Linked DNA regions of Homo sapiens: region 1 is linked to region 2. Evidence: promoter capture Hi-C in human tissues and cell types (Jung and others, 2019). All regions are on one chromosome and are shown on one strand. The core of a region is centred on a gene start or on the middle of the fragment in contact, and the rest is flanking DNA. Distances in the headings are between cores, read along the strand shown. Region 1 overlaps AGO3 (argonaute RISC catalytic component 3). Region 2 holds the start of COL8A2 (collagen type VIII alpha 2 chain).

Evidence for each region. Contacts are between HindIII fragments. The study calls those that stand out against the background at their distance.
Region 1: a contact is called between a fragment that was not itself captured here and the fragment with the promoter of COL8A2 in region 2, in 10 of the 25 tissues and cell types used here (H1 embryonic stem cells, adrenal gland, dorsolateral prefrontal cortex and 7 more).

The regions. Positions count from the first base shown.
Region 1 is chr1:36,065,941-36,071,263 of GRCh38, forward strand. It overlaps AGO3 (argonaute RISC catalytic component 3), which reads left to right. Exons shown (of 19, transcript NM_024852.4): 19 at 1-5,323. Among named protein-coding and RNA genes, the nearest start is that of TEKT2, 15 kb to the right of the region's middle. The HindIII fragment of the contact is 8,465 bases long and covers 1-5,323 here.
Region 2 is chr1:36,121,391-36,126,674 of GRCh38, forward strand. COL8A2 (collagen type VIII alpha 2 chain) reads right to left here and starts at 3,832. Exons shown (of 4, transcript NM_005202.4): 1 at 3,667-3,832. RefSeq lists a silencer at 1,144-1,344. The HindIII fragment of the contact is 15,339 bases long and covers 1-5,284 here.

The DNA of each region.
Region 1 (5,323 bases), core at 913-3,412, 57 kb before region 2:
AAAAATACAAAAATTAGCCGGGTGTGGTGGCGGAGGATGCAGTGAGCCAAGATCGTGCCACTGCACTCCAGCCTGGGCAACAGAGTGAGACTCTGTCTCAAAAAAAAAAAAAAATCGTTGTGCAGTAATAGATCATCCCAAAAAAGAATTGCCATGAACAGCGTTATGCGTAGAAAACAGATGGAAGTGTTGGTCATTAGAGCCTTGCTTTTTAAATTTTATTCTTTCCAAAAATTGGCGGTATGCTATCTATAATTTTATGTTTGATGTTGAAGAGGCAACACCAGAGACTAGAGAGGGAGATTACTCTGATATTTAGTGCCTAAAACTTTCATCTTGGCCGGGCACGGTGGCTCACACCTGTAATCCCAGCACTTCGGGAGGCCGAGGCAGGCTGATTACCTGAGGTCAGGAGTTCGAGACCAGCCTGGACAACATGGCAAAACCCGTCTCTACTAAAAATACAAAAATTAGCCAGGCATGGTGGTGGGCGCCTGTAATCCCAGCTACTCGGGAGGCTGAGGCGAGAGAATCGTTTGAACCCGGTAGGCGGAGGTTGCAGTGAGCCGAGATCATGCCACTGCACTCCAGCCTGGGCGACAAGAGTGAAACTCCGTCTCAAAAAATAATAATAATTTTAAAAATAAAAGACAAAACTTTCATCTTTATTTCATGGCTTTATTTCATCTTTATTTCATTTTTGGTTGGGAAAACAAACAAAAATCTCTTAAGTTAGTCCTTTAATAGTCTTTTTAGAACCAAAGAAGGAAAGACTGCAAAAATGTTGCATACGTGACTCTTTATTGTCAGAATCTGTAGAAACTGGAGGTCTTTGTAAAGAAATAGACTAGTAGGATTGTGAGAATATATAGTGAGGGGGGATTTAGGATAAGGCTTCCTTGCTGGGATCCTTGGACAGAAACCTTACAATTGTTTAATATTTGCAGAGTAAAAGAGCAGCTATTGCTATTTGAACCTACAGAAGAGACCTAAGACGAGCGTCTCTGTAATCTAAATTTATATGATAATGTTGTCCCAGACCCAAAGGCACACCTATTCTCAGTAACTTAGAGAAGTCTTGGAAGTTGCTTCTGAATTACAGTAAAGAAATTAAATGAAGTCTTTATCCTTAAATAGGGCCAGGCATTGCTATCAACATAGTGTCTTTGGTTTTCCCCTTTAAATAGAAAACACCAAGCAGGGCCTTTCCAGACAATGTAGTCTTTCCTGTAAAGAAAATGGTTTTGGTGTGGGATTTGGTAAAAACACTGGTTAGTTTGTAATGAAGAAAGAATTTTGGCATAGACAGTCCGACCCAGTTCATGGATACAGTTTGATCCCAGGGAGTTTAACAAAAGGAAGCTTTGGTTTTGCTAGCAACAGACTTGATCTTCTATAGTAATTAATTGCAATTAAGGTTTTCCAGGAGCTTTCTCATTTCTTAGCCCAGGGTCCAACCCCATTCCCTCTTTAAAAAAGAAAGAATAGGCCGGGAGCAGTGGCTCATGCCTGCAATCCCAGCACTTTGGGAGGCCAAGGCAGGTGGATCACAAGGTCAGGAGTTTGAGACCAGCGTGGCCAATATGGTGAAACCCTGTCTCTACTAAAAATACAAAATTAGCTAGGCGTGGTGGCAGGCGCCTGAGGCTGAGGCAGGAGAATCCTGCTAGTCTGAATTACAATAAGGAAATTAAATGAAGGATTTATCTTTAATAGAGCCAGGCATTGCTATCAACATAACATGTTTGGTTTTCCCCTTTAAATAGAAAACACCAAGCAGGGCCTTTCCAGACAAGGTAGTCTGGAACCCAGGAGGCGGAGGTTGCAGTGAGCCGAGATCCCACCATTGCACTCCAGCCTGGGTGGCAGAGTGAGACTCCGTCTCAAAAAAAAAAAAAAGAAGGAATAGGAAAAGGACTTAGAGGCAGTTGATATAGAATTCTACTGGGGGTAAATGACACTCTCAAAATACTTGGGAAAGAAGAATCACATGCCACAAGCTATAGCTTGATTAATATTTTAGCATGTTTTCCATGTTTGTATTCTAAAGTTTGTTTCCTTTGACATTCCATTATCTTACTTACTAGAGTGCCACCATTCTTATTTGTAATACAATCAGTGTTTTATGCCATTTGTGAATCACACAATTGTTCTTTTTTCCCCATCACACACACTCACACACAAACACACACACTGTTAAAAATAAAAGAGGGGAAGGATAAAACAAAAATAGATAGAATGATGATTATTACAATGTAACTTTAACATATATGAAGAGAAATTCTAACTCAGTTAAGTGAGAATTAAGATTGAAAGTATTAATGTTGCAAGTATTATCTCTAGCCATGGAATTTTTTGCTGGCTATAGAATGCTAATGTGAACAGAGTATATATCAGGAATATGATGTATTATGGCACAGTGATAATATTATTGTTGATATTAGCCAGATGTGGTGGTTTGCACCTGTAGTCCGAACTTCTCAGGAGGATGAGGCAGGAGGATAGTTGAGCCCAGGAGTTTAAAGCAAGCCTGGGCAATACAGCAAGACCCCAATCTTTAAAATAAATAAATAAATAAGAATTATTCTTGAAAGTAATATTCTAACCTTCTGCCAACCAACAGAGATCCTCATATTCTTAAAGAAAATTAATATAGCTTATGGTTTTGATAAATTGGACTCTGATTTAAACTTTAAAATGTTATGACTTTTATTCTGATACATGGCTTCTAAAATATGTAAAAAATTATATTGAATGAATTAATACTTAACCTGTTCATTTCTCTTAATTTATGTATTTATTCTGACTTTATTATACAGCTTATGTCTCACATCTGCCTTCTTGATATGTGCAAAATATTGTGTAAAAATAGTTTAAAACTCATCCCAGTTCCTAGTCAAGCGTGGGCTATAAGAGAGAAGGCTTAAGGTGTTCTTTAATGGAGGAACTTTTGAAAGATCACAAATGGAAAAAGCCTATTGAGAATTTATTGCCTTTGAGAGTAGAAAGGGCTCTAGAATATGAGCCAGAGACTTGGAATTTAGTAATAGGTCTCCCACTGATTTGCTCCGTGTCCTTAGGCAATTCGTTTAATCTCTGTGTGCCTAGTTTCCCCTTGTAAATAAGAGTGGTAATACCTGTCCTCACCTACCTCACTAAATTGTTGGAGTTCTTTTGTTCTGAGTCAGGGTCTCACTCTGTTGCCCAGGCTGAACTACAGTAGTGTGATCATAGCTCACTACAGCCTCCAACTCCTGGGCCCAAACTATCCTCCTGCTTCAGCCTCCCAAGTAGCTGGGACTAGAGGTACATGCCACCACACCCAGCTAATTATTTTCTTTTATTGCAGAGATGGGGTCTCACATGTTGCCAAGGCTGATCTCTAACTCCTGAGCTCAAGCAGTCCTCCTGCCTCAGCCACCCAAAGTGCTGGGATTATAGGCATGATCACTAAATTGTTGTAAGAATAAGATAATGTTTGCGGAAGCATTTGAGTTCTCCAAAGGAAAAGCTATTCAGACGTTCAAGATAATAGAAGAGTGTTGTGTGAAGGATTCCTTTCCAGTTTGCCTCTGTGAAAATGTCTTTGTTGTAGATCATTTTATGAAATAGGAATAAGAGAAACATAGGCCTTATCATGGTGTAGTGTTCACTTACAAACATATCCTGTTGTTTCTTCCCTGCAAGATATCCAGCACACAGGCTGAATTTTTCTTTATAATAATCCTTGGCAAAAGCATAACTTTTCAAAAACCAAATGATTTTAGTGGTGCTATGGCAGCTGCAGTTTTGAGTTAGATTAATGTGGTGAAAACCATCAAATACTTAGAAATTGACTGGGTGCGGTGGCTCATGCCTGTAATCCCAGCACTTTGGGAGGCCGAGGTAGGTGGATCACTTGAGGTCAGGAGTTCGAGACCAGCCTGGCCAACATGGCAAAACCCCGTCTCTACTAAAGATACAAAAATTAGCTGGGCACGATGGAGGGTGCCTGTAATCCCAGCTACTCGGGAGGCTAAGGTGGGAGAATTGCTTGGACCCAGGTGGCAGAGGTTGCAGTGAGCCAAGATTGTGCCACTGCACTCCAGCCTGGGCAACAAAGCGAAGCTCTGTCTCAATAAAAAAAAAAATAATAATAATAAAATACAAATACTTAGAAATTAACTTCGCCTTTGCCTTCAGGCACTTTTGCTACATGTTAGCATCAGAGGCTATTGTACAACTAGATGGTTATTCCCTGTTTCTTGGCCGATTTTTGGTACCTTTCTTTGAAGAAGAGGGTTAGATTTTAAGAAAGAAAGTGTGCTTATTTCACTCATGTCTTTGCAGAATTTAACTTTGCTTTACTTTAAAAATTCCAATCATCATGTACCTATAAAGGTTAAAATATAGTGAAAGTTTCTGCTTCATGTGAATTCAATTCTGAGCACCTGCAGGTCATATCAGGTGTCTGATGCAGTTACCTTTATAGATCGTGGCAGGTCCTTACATTTCAACAGGCTTATGCATTTCCATGGGGGGAAGAGATTCTGTTTCTAGGAAATTACAAAGGGCACACCACTGCAGGGAGTGTAAACAATTCTTTGTTGCAACAGACAAGATTTTTTTTAAAAAAAGAAAAAAGGATGCATTTTAGGTACACAGGGTATGGACGCATTCAACATTTACTTTTATCTCCACAGATGCCAACCTCCCCTTGTTGCAGGCAGTTGGGCTTTTCCAACTCATTGCTAACAAAGCTGGCATCTGCATTAATTTCAATGAGAATTTCAAGTACTGAAGATGAAAAGTTGGGGAGATTCATGTTTGAAAAATGAAAAATGAACAAAAAATCCACCTTGTGCAGTGAGATAGCTAACGCTGATATATCAGGAATAATTTTAAACTATTTTTGCTGTAATGTGTAGCTTTAATGTCTCTTTTCAGTTATGGACCCATAAAAGTATTCCTATATCTTGTGAATAAAGATCATTCTTGTGGACTAGTACGTGGATGCATTCATAGGCTTTGGGAAGCAGTGGTGTGCGTATGTGTGTCTATATCAATATTTTATGTTTATAACTCTGCGTATTAAGTTTATATAGAAAAAAATAATGTCTTTCTTTAGTGTTTGGGGGACTCAATGGTAATATGACCATTGCAGTGTAATCTGACTGCTCACTCTAGAGAACACTTCTGTTATACACAATGCACATACAAACATACACCCCTAAAGCGTAGCTAACTGCTCCCACTAGATAATTGCTGCTAAAAACAAAACAAAACAAAACAATACAAAACAAAAAAAACCCTAAGTAATGGAGGAAGAAATAGCATTCTTTTA
Region 2 (5,284 bases), core at 2,582-5,081:
AAAAAAAAAAAAAAAAAAAAAAAGTTGCTGTTCTAATTCCTTCTTATTGGCCAGGCACAGTGGCTCACCCCTGTAATCACAGCACTTTGGGAGGCCAAGGCGGGCGGATCACCTGAGGTCAGGTGTGCAAGAGCAGCCTGGCCCCATCTCTACTAAAAATACAAAAAATTAGCCGGGCATGGTGGTGGACGCCTATAATCCCAGGTACTTGGGAGGCTGAGGTAGGAGAATCTTTCAACCTGGGAGGTGGAGGTTGCAGTGAGCCAAGATCGTGCCACTGCACTCCAGCCTGGGTGACAAGAGCCAGACTCTGTCTCAAAAAAAATTAAAAAAAAAAGAAAGAAAGAAATCACAAAACCCAGTAAGGTTCCCTCTGCTCCATGTCCTTTGAGGGAGGGCAGCCTTTGTGAGGAAGGGCACCTGGGCCTGGGATCCTGGCCTCTGTTTCGATTCTGCCTCTGGCTGCCGTGTGACCTCAGGTGAGTTCCCCTCTGAGTCTCCATAACCCCATCCATGAGCTGGGCCAGCAGTGCCACCTGGCTCTCCCCATGAGGCACTAGCCCTCCGCCACCCCCACATGTGACCTCTTCTTCCCCTTCAAAAGCCAGGAATCCCAGCCCATCCAGGCTGCATGGGGATAGTCAGCCTCCAATTCAGAACTTTCCAAGAATCTGAATAGAAGCACGGCCAGGTCCTCCCCAGTCCACTCCCAGGGTCCAACCAGAGAGGCGGAATGGACACTGATCGGAAGATCTAGGTGCTGTGCCCCCATTGCATGTGTGACCTGGAACTACTCCTCACCTCTCTGCAGGCAAAACAACTCTGGAGACCAGTACAGCATTCCCATTTTAGAGATGGGGAAACTGAGGCACAGAGCTGGGAAGTCCTAGATCTGTCTGACTCCCAATGCCAGCTCATCTCCACACAGCACATGCTGCCTTACTCAAGATCTGCTGTCCACACTCCACCCACTCTGGAAATGCCCTCAGAACAAAGTGGGCCTGGAATTCTCTTTCTGGGAGTCAGACTTCCATGACTGGTACTTGGGCACATGTGTGTCCACATATGGCCTCGCAAACCCACCCAGGCTTCAAGGCTACACTCAGCCTCCAGCTCCCAGTCATCTCAACTTATCAGACCCCAGCGCCAAACCCACATCTCCCCTGCACCTGCCTTCTCTGGGGACAGGCCACAGCCATCCAGTGCAAGGCTTCTGGCCCCATCGCCAACCGGCTTACTCCTTTCCATCTACTTCTTCCTCTCATCCCCATGGCAACCGCCCACTTCATCCCCCGTCACCTTTCTCCTTAAACTCTGCCCAGCCTCCTCTGTGATCTCCCTTGCCTCGAAGATCCCCCCTTCATCCTTGTTCCCCAGAGCAGCCAGAGTGATTCCCAGATTATATCATTCGCAGCTCACACCCTTTCTCTAGACAGGGCCCTTAGAAATCTGACCTCAAAGTCATGAGTCCCTCCCACTCCCCAGTGTGATCCAACAGTGCCCATTACTCCCATTACTCACTGTCCCTGAGAGAACCCTGAAGCTTCCCCCTCCACACCTCTGCACGAGCTGTGCCCTCAGCCAGGAACACCCTCCCATTCACCCTTTCCACCCCCTGCACCTGTCAAAATTATCATCTTCGAAAGCCCTGGCCAGATTACCTCTTAGGTGCCACCTTCCCTGATCTGCACTTTGGCTTGCATGGTGCCCCTCCTCGGGTACCTAGTAGGGCACCGTGAGACCACAGCCACACCCCAGAGGAGAGGCCGCTGTGTCTCTCTCGTTCCTCCGACCCGACACTATAATTTCCTCCTGCCACGGATGGGACCAGCGCATCTGAGACCCCACTTCCCTGTAAGAGGTGCCCCATCCCTGCCACTGAGAGTTCTGGAGCGGGCTGGGGGGCCAGCAGGGCAAGGAAGCTGGGGCTGTGCGTCCTTTGTTCCGGCTCAGGCAGGAGCAGAGAAGGTAGTGGAGTACAGGGGCTCAGGCTGACAGCCCTGCTTAGTATCTTTCTCCTCCCTCTTGCTAACAGACACATTCACTTCCATATTTTCTTTCCCCTTCCTCTGAGCCAAAGAGCGGAAATTCTCATTTTCACTGTGGTAGACGAAGTGAAACCAGAGAAAGAGACCCTGGTGAGTGTGTCTGGGTGTGAGCGTATGTGTGTGTGTGCCGTCCTGTCTGAGTATGTCTGGCTGGGCCACGTGGGGCCTGCCATGTGTCTGTAGGAGTTTGGGTGTGTGTGCATGTGTCCGCCTGTGTCTTGTGGTGGTGTATGTTTCATTAGAGGAGGGTGTCCGCATGAATCTAATGAATGTTTGGGTCGGTGTGTGACTGTGCATGGCTCTCAGAAGGGTGCAAGGCTGTGTGTGGCTGGGTGAGCATGTCTGTGGTTTCTCCTCATTATCATCTAGGGTCATTGTGTGTCCAAGGGTTTGTAGGTGTTCACCAGTCCACTGGGAAGCCAGTGACAGCACCTGTGCCCTGATGGAGACCACCAACCATGGTGTCTCTCCAGAGATCACCAACTCCTGCCCTGCGGCCCCCTCTGCTTGGGGCAGTAAGGATCAGTCGATCTTAGCTCAGTCCCCAGAGAGGAACCCCAGGCTGCCTGACCCTCCAGCCATCCAGCTCCACGGCCCCCAGATTTTTCAAATGCCCAGTACAGCTGCTGGGAGGCTGTCCTTGCCAAGGGGACTCTGCTAAGAGGAGTGGATGAGCCCCTGCTGCCAGCCTGAGCAAGAGGTACTGATAGCAGACAGGAGGGATGATTTCTGGTTGCTCCGGCACCCCTAAGGAGGTCAGCCGCACGTCTGTGTCAGGAACCCAGCATGGTCTCACACAGGCACACACACGTGCGTGCACACATACAACCAGCAAAGTTTTCCCCGTGGCAATAGCGTTCCTGGGCCCTCTGGCTGAATAGCATTTCTCTACCTGGAGGATTTCCGGGGCTAGGGTGGCTCCAGACCCAGGGCAGAGACACTGGGAGGTTGTTCTGGGGCCCTGGGACCCCAGTCCCTCTTGGCCAGGCAGCGGCCCCTCACCCCCTGCAAGTCTCAGTCTGGAGCTGGGGGGATGCTGAGCCCCTGACAGGAACATTCCTGGGAACTTGTCTTCAGTTTGGGGCGAGGGGACTGACAGGGCACCTAGAATAGGAGGAACCTGGGGGCTAAGGCAGAAAAACCTTATAACTGGAAGGTCTCCAGCAAATCAGCAATGGCAGAGAGATGGGGGCAGGAGTGAGAGCGGGGGGATGCTAAGGCCCCTCACTCCCTCCTCTCTCCTCCACTACCCTGTGAAGGCGGCTTTTTTATCCCCACTTTACAGGTGGGACGGGAGATCGGGAGGTGGTGACGCGCCCAGAGCCACATCGTCGGGGGTTGCACCCGGCACTGTCTTATGCTGGAGCCCTCGCTTCTGGGAGAGGAAGGGAGGAGGGGGCTTTACTGGGATCCTGCCGGGGAGGGAACGGGGCACAGGGAACGGGATGGGCTCCCCCATTCTAAGGCGACCCCCTGGCCCGAGTCCCCCACCGCGTCCCCACCCCGGAGTCCGAGGCGCCGGCCCTGCTATCCCGCATGGTGTTGGGGGAAGCCCAGCCCAGGTCTTGCCCTCGGAGCCCCCCAGCCCGAGCCCCGGTGCCCGCCTCCTGGCCTTTACCTGCGGGCGCGGCCGCCGGGCGCCGCTCCCGGCCCTCGAGGGCGGCCCGGGCGGCGAGGGCTCCGGGCAGGGGCGTCCGCGGCTGGGCGGGCGGCGTTGGGGTCCGGGGTCCGCGCCGGCGGGGTTCCGCGTCGCTCTGCCGGCCGCCCCTCGCGGCTGCCGGAGTGGGCGGGCGGCAGGAGGGGCGCGTCGGGGCGGGGCCTCCGCCCTCCTCTTTCCACAGCCACGGCCAAGGCCCGCGCCCCGCCCGGCCCAGCGCGCCCAGCGCGGACTCGGACGGCTGCCTCCCTCCCCGACACCCACGCCGAGCCCCCTCCACACACGCGCTCCCGGGCGGCCCGCCCCCATCCCTCCCCGTCCACCTGACCCGCGGCTCGGCCGCCGGGGAGTCCGCGCAGCCCCTGCCCTCGAGGGGCCACCTGCCTGTGGGGACGGACGCGGCTGCTGAGAAGGACGGCCAGGCGTGGTCCTGCAGGGAAGGGGCAGCTCGGGCTGGTGGCCCCCAGTGAGGAGTCCCCAGAAGGCTGCCTGCAGACGTGACCTCGGTAGGCTGAGCCCGGAGGACTCACAGGGGCCAGTCGTGACCCGCACATTCAGGCTTTAGGGCATTGAGCCGGGGTCACAGAGGCAGGCGGGAGCAGGCCAGACCTCGTCCCTCGGAAATGGGGAGTCACGGAAGGCTCTGGAGCAGGGCAGTCACGTGGTCAGATGTGTGCTTTGGAAAGAGCCTCCCGAAGCTGTGTGGAGGAAGATAGAGGCAGGCCACCGAGGAGGCTGCGGGAATACCCTGGCATGGTCCCATGAGGTGCACAGTGAGGGGGAAGGAAAGGGAGGGCCCAGTGTGAGGGGAGTGAGGAGGCGAACTAGGCAGAGTTTGGGCGAGGGGCCTAGGAAGAAGCAGTGTCAAGGACAGTGCGCAGGCTTTGGGCTAGGCCTGGGGGCGGCAGGGTCTAGGAGAAGAAGGAGGACGGATGTAATGAATTGGATGAGCCTGTGGGACTTCCATGGATCCGGAAGGGAGGTGAGAGTTCTGGGATAGCGAGGAGGAATCCACGGTTTGCAGATGGCGACTGATGCCATAGAATAAGGAGCGGGCCCAGGGAGGCGGGCAGGGCGCGGGCAGGACACTCATCAGCATTCACGGGGCTGCCCAGGGAGAGGGGTCGGCAAAGGAGACTGAGAAGATGGCAGGGACCGGGAGAGCAGTGTCCCAGAAGGCAAAGGCAGAGTGCTTCTAGAAGGCCAGGGAGGCCCACGGGATGGGCTGTCACAGAAGGACATTCTTAGGGACAGCAATTAAGGGTTGGAGGTTGGGGTGGGGGTAGGGGCAGTAGCCAGGCAGCAGGGGAGAAAGGAGGAGGCAGCAAGTGCAGAGGGAAGGGGAGATGAGGTCAGGAAAGGATTTTGGGGTGTGTGTGTGTGTGTGTCTGTGTGCGTGTGTGCATGTAGGTGAGTGTGGGTGTCTGTGTGTGCATGTAGGTGGGTGTGGGCGTGTGTGTGCGTGCATGTGTGTGTGCGCGTGCCTGTGTGTGTACGTGTAGGTGGGTGTGTGTGTGTGTGTGTGCATGTGTGTGTGTGTGCGTGCCTGGGTGTGTGTGTGCATGCGTGTAGGTGGGTG